2 separate regions of the Homo sapiens genome follow, and region 1 is linked to region 2. Evidence: promoter capture Hi-C in 16 types of primary human blood cells and fetal thymus (Javierre and others, 2016). All regions are on one chromosome and are shown on one strand. Each heading gives the region's core, a stretch centred on a gene start or on the middle of the fragment in contact. The rest is flanking DNA. Distances are from core to core; before and after follow the strand shown.

Region 1 (4,796 bases), core at 183-2,682, 1.7 Mb before region 2:
TGGTGGGAAGGATGATGATGCCTTTTCTGAATCTGGTGAAATGGAAGGTTTTAACAGTGGTCTGAATAGTGGTGGCTCAACAAATAGCAGTCCCAAAGTGTCACCTAAGTTGGCCCCTCCAAAAGCTGGAAGCAAAAATCTCAGCAATAAAAAGTCTTTGCTACAGCCAAAGGAAAAAGAAGAAAAGAACAGGGACAAAAATAAAGTTTGCACTGAAAAACCAGTCAAAGAAGAGAAGGATCAGGTGACAGAGATGGCTCCAAAAAAGACCTCCAAAATTGCAAGCTTGATCCCTAAGGGCAGCAAGACAACAGCAGCTAAGAAGGAAAGCTTAATTCCGTCTTCCAGTGGTATTCCAAAACCAGGCTCTAAAGTTCCAACAGTAAAGCAAACCATTTCACCTGGCAGCACAGCAAGCAAAGAGTCTGAGAAATTCAGGACTACCAAGGGGAGCCCTTCCCAGTCCTTATCTAAGCCTATAACCATGGAGAAAGCAAGTGCTTCTAGTTGTCCTGCCCCTTTGGAAGGAAGGGAAGCTGGCCAAGCTTCTCCTTCTGGTTCCTGTACCATGACAGTGGCACAAAGCAGTGGGCAGAGCACAGGAAATGGTGCTGTCCAACTCCCTCAACAGCAGCAACATAGCCACCCGAATACCGCGACAGTGGCACCATTCATTTACAGGTAAGGTGGCCTCTGTTTATCCACAGTTGTAAATATATTTACAGGCCTACATACTCAGAGTGTAATAGGGAAGGCTGATAAAGTGGTGCTTTATGTCGTCATTTTGGAGTAAAGTTTCATGCTAAAGATAGAGGCCTAGAATTCAGTGCGGAATCTTAGTCTGGAAAAAGACTTCCAGTAGGATCTAGTTTTATTCCCTCTCTCATTCCCTGTCAGCAATTGAGACCTTCAAAAATTGAATTACTTGTTATCAAAAGCCAGCTAGAAACCAGATGCCACAACTTTCTCTTGTGTTTATTCATATTATTGCTACTACTATACTGCTTCTATTACTAGCGGCAGACTTTTAAAATAATTCTCACTTTTACATCGTTTACGGTTATTTTTGTTGTCATCTTTGGGAGAAAGTATACCATAATGGTTAAAGAGGCAGCCTCTGAAATGATAAAGTTGCGGATTTCATTCCTAGTTCTGCCACTTTTCAGCTATAAGACATTGGGAAAGTTACTTAACATTCTTTAGTCTCATTTTCTTCAGCTGTCAAATAGGAACCATGCACTACTTTGTAGAGTTGAGACTATTAACAGAGGTCATGCATATAACATGTTTACTGTATATCCTGATGTGTTGCAAATGTTCTTCAAATGTTATTTATAAGATATTACTTTCTCAGTGTAAATTTTATATTAATTTCCCACAGCAAGGCATAGGTTTCTAGGTAAAAGGGGTTACATATATAATTTGTATTACTTATTTGGGTTGTATTACTGATTTGTTTTTTTTTTACCTTTTATTTATTTATTGTTTATTTTACTTTGCATTCTTATTTTGTAGGCATTGAAATACACAATATAAAATTTTTAAATGCATTATTATGCATTTTAAAATATGCATCCTACCATCCAAATGGTAAAGACAACACTTTGCTTGTTGTTCTGTGATTTGTTTTAATCGATTAGAGATATGTCAGTAACTGCTGTGTCCCCAGTTTATTCACTGCTTGGTTGGTAAGGAGATGGCCTGGGGAGCAATAATGTCTGCTTTGTCCCTCTTTCGGGCAGGTTGGCAATTTAACTACAGAAAGAAAATTTTATGAATAGGAAGCAGGACCCACTATAATTAAGAAAGGGTCAAAACTATATAGTTTAAAATTTTATTAAATTTTTTGAATGTAAAAGTTTTTAAAATAAAGCAGTTTATACTGATTTATTTTTTTGCTCAATGAGGAATGTAAGTGCTTTTTTTCTGAGGTTTTTTATACACTCAGCAAAACAAAATTATTATAATTATTACATTTAAGCTCTTGGGACATTACAATTGAATGTTGCTATTCTGACTTCAATAGTACTAACTCATTTAAAATACTTGTATTTGGATCAGATGGGAGTCTGCAGCTCCTTCTGACTCCAGGGTCCCTGTTTGACAAAGCAGAATTTAAGATGTCAAAATCATGATCCACATTTCAAAAACGTGAGAAAAAAAATCATGAAGTTTTAAATATGTCATACTCAGCACACTTTTGGATTACAAATATATTCTGTAAAAACATCAATCCTTTCAAAAAATCACAAGTGAATTTCATAGGAAAGTGTAAATCTAGAACTGCTAATTTAGTAGGCTTCTTTCTATAAGTAGCAACAAGCTTTTAAAAAAATTGTTTGCAATAAAATATCCAGTGGAAACAAATTTAGTGGTTTCCATTTGAAAATGTAACTTTTAAATATCAAAAACAGGAAGCAGCACAGCAGCACAGCTTAGAAGTTACAGTGTGGATCCGCTGTGTGAACCTGATGAGTTCTTTGAGAAACTCTTTGAGTTTCTGTTTGACCTCTTTAACAACAAGACTATAAAAGTGAGGCAGTGTAGCCAAGTAGCTAAGAAAAGAGGCATTAGAGAGGCTGAAGCAGGAGGAGAATCGCTTGAACCCAGGAGGTGGCAGAGGTTGCAGTGAGCTGAGATCGTGCATTTGCACTGCAGCCTGGGTAACAAGAGGGAAACTCAAAAAAAAAAAAAAAAAAAAAAAAAAGAGAAAAAAAGGGCGATAGAATATGTCTTACTCTACCATTGTTCAGAAACAGCATCTTGTGGTGGTGGTTGCCTAGGTGGGAATCTCAATGCCACCACTGATCAGTTGTGTTACTTTGGGTCATATATGTAAAGATTCTGACCCACAATTTCCTAATCTGTGAAATAGGTATGATAATTGTAGAAGCTACCTCATTAGCCTATTTTGAAGATTGAGTTGATATTTATCTGTAGAACAGTATCTGCCACATAGTAAACAGCCTTCCCTAAACTTCACTTTCTAATCCTATAAAGTATGATTGATAAAGGATGCCTACCTCGATTGATTGTATGAAAGATTAAAGAAAATAATCCCATGTAAAATTTTTAGCACACAGCCAGATTTTGAGCAAATTACATGAATATCAGTAATTATTTTTATTATTATCAACAATATAAGATAGCTAAAAATAAATGAAACTATGGTTGGCATGGTGGCTCATGCCTGTAATCCCAGCATTTTGGGAGGCCAAGGTGGGAGGATGACTTGAGGCCAGGACTTTGAGACCAGCCTGTACACCAGAGCAAGACCCTGTTTCTACAATAAATAAATAAATTAAAACTGTCTCATAAAATTTCACATTGAAGTCTATATATAAAGTAATATTCATTCAAAGTTTTTAAATCAATGCAGAACAATTTTACAAATAATATGTAAATCCTCAAAAGGCAGAGTGGTTAATATTCATTCTTTTCAGCTTTCAGTAAAAGCTTGTTTATAGAGTCATGACATTTGGATTATGTAACCTTTTATGTTCTTTCTGACTTTCACTGTTCTATCCCCATGTAAGAATCCCTCCTATAAAATCCCTGACAATTATTTTTGGAGTTGCTAATCATTTGATGAGATAAGACTAATAATTTACTTTTTGATGTTGGTATTATCATTTGTTGAGTGCTTACTTAGTGAAAATCTTTGTGTCACAAAATATATGTGAATTTTCTCATTTAAACTTCATCATGAACTCATGAGAAAAAATGTCATCCCCCATTTTCCAGAAATGAAGAAGCAGAGATATTAAGTCAGAATAGTAATAATCTCTTCAGATCATAAAGCTAGTAGAAATTTGCTTTGCTTATCAGTTCTATCTATGTGACAGAAATAAGAGGTATTGTTACTGAGAAAATTCTGGTTAGGAAAATGCCAATAGTACACTTGCAAAATTCTCAATCAGAACTCATTTATAATTGAAAATGGTAATTGCTGTTAATTAGTATAAATTATATAAATGTATACAGATACATATATATATGATATGTAAATATAATTAAATAACTTTTATATAATGGGAAGATTGATGGCTGATGGTGACTTTTTTTCTCAATTCTAGGTCAGTACTTATTCCTTCTGAGACTTCAATAAATGCTTCATAGTACTCTTTGTCACACACTGGGTGTTCAGAGTTCTATAAATATAATGTGGATTCTGGAAGTTAATAGATTTCCTATTAGCCTAACTTCCTATCTAATATAAATTATTCTGTACATAGTTTCAGTAATTCAATTATCTCTACAGAGTGATAAAGTAGTTTCAAATTTGCTGTTATTCTTATTCATTTATCAAATAGATATAACTAAGACAAAATGTCAAGAATTAAAGAAAATATTTTATTTTGGTTTAAGAAGTTCCTGATAACTAGAGCTACCTGAAATTGGAATAGGCTGCTTTTTATAGTGTTAAGATGGCCATCTGAAGTATTTAAAAAGTGGCAAAGTGACCAGTTATTACAGTTTAAGCAAAGGGAAATTGCTGCATACTTTTTCATTTATGTACTCATCCCTCATTCTACAAATACTGTGTAACAGAAGATACAAAGATTTTTTAAAAAAATCTCTGCCTTCTGGGAGCTCAGTCTACTAAGGGTAGTAAGAACAATATCATCAAAAATATTAAACCATTACTGTTATGGAAGTGTATGCAACATACACAATTAATGTAGAAAAAAAGAGGGTTTTTTACAAATCTGGCAAAATGGAGTAAACTAATGCATCACCAAGAAGTTAAGATAAGGGTAAGGCATAAAAGATGAGTTACAGTTTGTCACAAGGAG
Region 2 (4,909 bases), core at 126-2,625:
CCTGCCTGCCTAACTCGGTGAAGGGACAAGTACGAGCCAGGGGAGGTAAACTCTGCGCCCCGGGTAGCTCCCAGGAGGAAGACACCGGGAGGCAGCTGCCCGCCCCGGCCCGGTCCGGCTGCGGCCCCCGCCCGGCTCACCTCTGCGGCAGGGATGTTGACCACGCCGGTGGAGCGCCGCTTCTCCCGCAGCTTCCTCTTCTCGATCTGCCCCTTGCCTTTCCTGGCACTGGGGCCCGAGCTCTTGCCCTTCTCTGGGACGCCGTCCGGCTCCTCCTCGTCACGCTGGGGCGGCGGTGCAGCCGAGGCAGAGGCGGCTGGGGGCTCGTCCTCCGACCGCCGCGGGCCGGGGGCCGCCCGCGTCAGCATGGCGGAGCCGACCGCGCAGTTCACGCCCCCGGGACCGGGGACGGCAGGTGCGGCCGGCGCGCCGCCCGGGAGGTTGTTGTTGAGCTCGTTGGCAGCGGCGGCCGCCGGGGTGCCCAGAGCCCCCGCGGGGGGCTTCCCAGCGGCGTCGCTGCTGCCCCCTCCCGGGGGGGCCGGGCCCGGGGGGTTCTGCTTGGCGCGCATCTTCTCGCGTTTCGCCTTCCACTCCTCCAGGAAGTCTGTGGTGCTGCCGCCGAGGCCGCTGCTGGTCCGGTAGCCACCGGTCGCCATATTCCCAAAGGGGCCGGTCGGGCTCTCACCTCAGGCCGCCCACCAGGGCTCCGGCCGCTGCCTCCTCTTCCTTCCTGCGGCCCCGAGGATGCCAGGAGACGACCTCCAGGAGAGGGACGGCCGCCGCTCCCACAGCAGCCGGCGGGGCTGAGGTGAAAGACAAAAGGGGGCGGGTAAGGGAAGCGTAAGATCCCCGCCCGACCCAAGGGTCTGCCCCCGGGCTGCGCCCCTTGGAGTCCTCGAGCGCGCCCACCAGTCACTACCGGCCAGCAGCCGCCGGGTCCCCACCCTGCAAAGTTTCTCCCACGCACCTACAGTACGGACCCCGACGATCGCCGCCCCTAGAAGGGAGGAGAGAGGACTGACCCCACCCCCAAGTCGGCCCGCCCGCCCCATCCCCACCAAGGTCCGCGCCGGCGGCGGTCGAGATACTAGGGCTAGACCCGCCACCTGTCGGCTCGTCGTATCGCCTGCTCCGCGCTCTAGCCACCGCCGGTCCGAGGTCCCCGTCAGCTACAACCCCACTCCCAAGGCGAGGCGCGGAGCTCCTAGCCGGTTCGCAGAGGAGGCGGGGACCCAGCTGTCCCGCCGAGCGTGGAAAGGACCGGGTGTGAGCGAGCGCCTTACCTTGGAGGAGCTTGTAGGGGACGAGGCGTAGGGCTGGGATCCGGCTCCCAGGTGTGCCGAAGCTGGCGCGCGCTCTTCCGCCGCGCGGAAAGTGCCGCGGCAAACTCGCGGTGCGGAGCTCCAGGCAATCCCAGGACAGGAGGGAGGGAGAAGAAGGAGGGAGGGAGGGAGGGAGGGAGCCAGGGGCGGGAAGGGAGCCGAGCGGCGCCGAAGCACGAGCGGAAAAGGCCGAGGCGGCGCGCGAGGGGCGCGGCGCGCGGTGGGAAGGGTCGTGGCCGCTGACGCCCCGCCCCCGGCGCTCAGGTGCGCGGCGTCGCGTCCGGCCCGCCGCTGCAGCCTGCCCTGCGCCAGCCGTCCTCTGCCCCGCTCCCGCCGCAGACCACAGCGCGCCCGCCGCGCTCCGCCCGCGGCCTGCGAGTTAGACGGCACATTCCTGGGCTAGCAGCTTCGCGGCGTCCGGCCTCCCGGCGCCTCCGACTCCGGGGCGGGAACGGCACTCCACGCCCTTCTTGCTTGTCTTCTCCGCCTCTCTCTTCTCCCACCACTCTTCCTTTTAAGTACAAGACCGTATTATTTGAGAGAAAGTCTCGAACGCTGCTGGCTAAGGGGAAAAGTGCGATAACTTGTGATGATTCAGGGAATGACTAGACAGGATGGGAAAATACCCACGTGTCTCTTTTCCTAGTCGCTGCTCCCTTTTCAGATGTACTAGGGCAGCGGGCAGGAGAATAGAAAGACCTGAGACAAACCCAGCACCCTCCTTCTAAGAAAACTGCGGTGCCCTGGTGAAAAGGGTTGGCTAAGAGGAAGGACTTACTAGTATCTTAGGGTTGCGGGAGAAAAAACTCAGTTCGACAGTTTATTGTATTGGCGATTCCAGTCTTGGAGTTTTCCCCTTAACCCTGTCTCTGCCTCTCCTCTTTACAGAGAATGAATTTAGCAGCAAAGCTCCCTACCAAAGTACTAACGCTGCACTGATGCTAATTTGAGATGAGCTGGGGCAGTGATTGTCTCTATTTTTTCATTATTAACATGCCAGAGGCTTATCCTCTGATGCAAGTCATCTGAAATTTCTGGATCAGAGCGGGGTGGGCTGTCACTGACGCACCTAAGACTGACCTTTCTATATCCAAGTAATGTCAGGGCACATCATTGTGGGAGGCTACAAATGCCAGGTCTCCATTTTGTAAAAAAGTAGGAGAGCCCTAAGTCACGCTCTTACCTAACATAAACCTTTCTTCCTACTTAATATTCCTGTTTTGCCCAGGTAGCACATGATGAGTGAGCAATCAGTGTTTGCCTGCCACAGAACTGGGAACAGAAGAAAGTGATTCACATGCTCTATATTTCTCAGGGAAAGACAGTTTTGGTCTTTGGTCTGGCTGTTGTGGGAAACGTATGGCGAGAGCTCTGGAAAAATCCTTAGAAAATTAAAAGCTTTTGTTGGGAATAGGTCTAAAAGGCTGAGCGGCTGTTTACCTAAGCTAGTACCAACCCCAGTGTGCCACCTGAAGTTTCTCAATTACATATTCATTAGTTTGTTTTCTGAGTTTTAAGGAGAGTAAGGGAGGCTGGGACATTAAACGTATTCACATTCATATGCTTTGTAACTTATCAGAGGACTTTTCTCCTGGAAGGGCTGCAGGATATAGTGGAAAGAGGGTATAGTCAGCTAGCTGAGAGATCTTGGGCATGTTTACATTATCTGGTACTCAGCTTTCTGTACTATAAAATCAGCAAAAATTACATTTTTTTTTTTTTTGAGGCGGAGTCTCGCTCTGTCGCCAGGCTGGAGTGCAGTGGCGGGATCTCAGCTCACTGCAACCTCCGCCTCCTGAGTTCAAGCAATTCTCCTGCTCTCAGCCTCCCAATTACATTATATTTAAGCTGTCTTAAGAACTGACACTGCACATAAAATGTGCTTGATTCGAGGAAGGCACTCAGTAAACATAGTCCCTTCTAGGGGCTTAAAGTCCTTGGTCTCTAAGAAGTGTATGGGAGAAGAGGAAATTATAACAGATGGGGTATTGAATATACAATATCAGCCTAAAAACGATAGACTTTGAATGAACTAGGATAACACCCCACATAAATTTATCACTGCATGGCTTAGACCAGTTCTCTTAGTGTTAATAGGTTCTGAGTCAGGAATTTTGGCTGCTACTGACTTGTGTGGCTTTGGGCAAGTTGCTTAACTTTTGTGCCTCTGTTTACTTACATATAAAATGGGGATAATAATACTTCCTGCATCGTGAGAGTGTTGTGAAAGTGCCTGCAGTCCTTAGATAAAAGGTGGTATGTGAGTACCAGAGTAGGTATTATTAGTCTATAAAGTGCCCTAGGAACCATGGATGAAAGAGATTATTGAGGTACAAAGCTCTGTGTTTTGTTATTATTATCATTTATTATACCTTTTGTCTTTACCATTCTCAATATTCCCGAAGATATATTTCACAGCCAGACTGCTTCCAACATTGCACCGAGGTATTTAGCTGAGTCAGTCCTAAATTGCAAGATGTTTGCATATCATCAATCTTTATGTATAGCGTTCTGATGAAATAATCCTCAAAGACTTGGAGCTTGGTTTCTCAACCTCAGCACTGTTACATTTGGGGCTGGATAATTCTTTGCTGTCCTGCCCATTGTAGGTTGTTTAGCAGCATCGTTGGCTTCTACCTATTAGATACCAATAAGAAACCCCCACCTGTATTGTGACATTGCCACATGGTCCCTGGGATAAAATTCTTCCCCGGTTGAGCACCTCTGAGTTAGCCTAAAATAACCAATTTTTAGCGACTCACTTGCCCTTAATAATAAAATGAAATATGATGATAATGCTGACAAAAACAGATTCATTTAAATATGTCAGAGTGAAACCTAGATGTTAGTCTTAATGATTTTGAGGAAGTGTATTATTATATGTATGGATAGCTAGTGTATTGGGAAGTAGCCATTTTGCCTTCAATGCAGGTATTTCTGGAACATATGCAATTCATCCTCTAACATCAAAATATTATATGTGCATAGGATAAAAAAATTACATACTTTAGTTCTACAAGGATTATAACAAAAAACAGCAATCCCCTCTCTACCTTATCCATTCTGAAAACCCTACCCAAAACTTTGAACTTTTTAACTGTTTCCATTAATAGAGATCTTCATATTTATTTTTTATGTGCATATCTGCTATTGTACATCTTGATTTTTCCATTTTTAGATATAGAAGAGGATTTAGCTCTAATACACTAATAACACATATACTTTTCTTTTCTTTTTCTTTTTTTTTTCTTTTTTTTTGAGATGGAGTCTCGCTCTGTCTCCCAGGCTGGAGTGCAGTGGCGCGATCTCGGCTCACTGCAAGCTCCGCCTCCCGGGTTCACGCCATTCTCCTGCCTCAGCCTCCTGAGTAGCTGGGACTACAGGTGGCTGCCACCACGCCCGGCTAATTTTTTTTTTTTTTTTTTTTTTTTTTTGCATTTTTAGTAGAGACGGGGTTTCACTGTGTTAGCCAGGATGATCTCGATCTCCTGACCTCGTGATCCACCCGCCTCGGCCTCCCAAAGTTCTGGGATTACAGGCATGAGCCACCATGCCCGGCCACACATATACTTTTCATACTCCTACAC

The links. Contacts are between HindIII fragments. The CHiCAGO score rates a contact against its expected background, and 5 or more counts as called.
Region 1: a fragment that was not itself captured here is called in contact with the fragment with the promoter of PAWR in region 2 in 1 of 17 cell types (total B cells); the score reaches 5.1 in total B cells.

The regions. Positions count from the first base shown.
Region 1 is chr12:78,006,765-78,011,560 of GRCh38, forward strand. It overlaps NAV3 (neuron navigator 3), which reads left to right. Exons shown (of 40, transcript NM_001024383.2): 8 at 1-681. Among named protein-coding and RNA genes, the nearest start is that of NAV3, 180 kb to the left of the region's middle. The HindIII fragment of the contact is 1,778 bases long and covers 544-2,321 here.
Region 2 is chr12:79,689,589-79,694,497 of GRCh38, forward strand. It overlaps PAWR (pro-apoptotic WT1 regulator), which reads right to left and starts at 1,376. Exons shown (of 7, transcript NM_002583.4): 1 at 1,284-1,376; 2 at 141-803. The coding sequence starts at 656. PPP1R12A-AS2 (PPP1R12A antisense RNA 2) reads left to right here and starts at 444. Exons shown (of 7, transcript NR_187531.1): 1 at 444-808. RefSeq lists silencers at 84-603, 1,374-1,673. The HindIII fragment of the contact is 6,027 bases long and covers 1-2,718 here.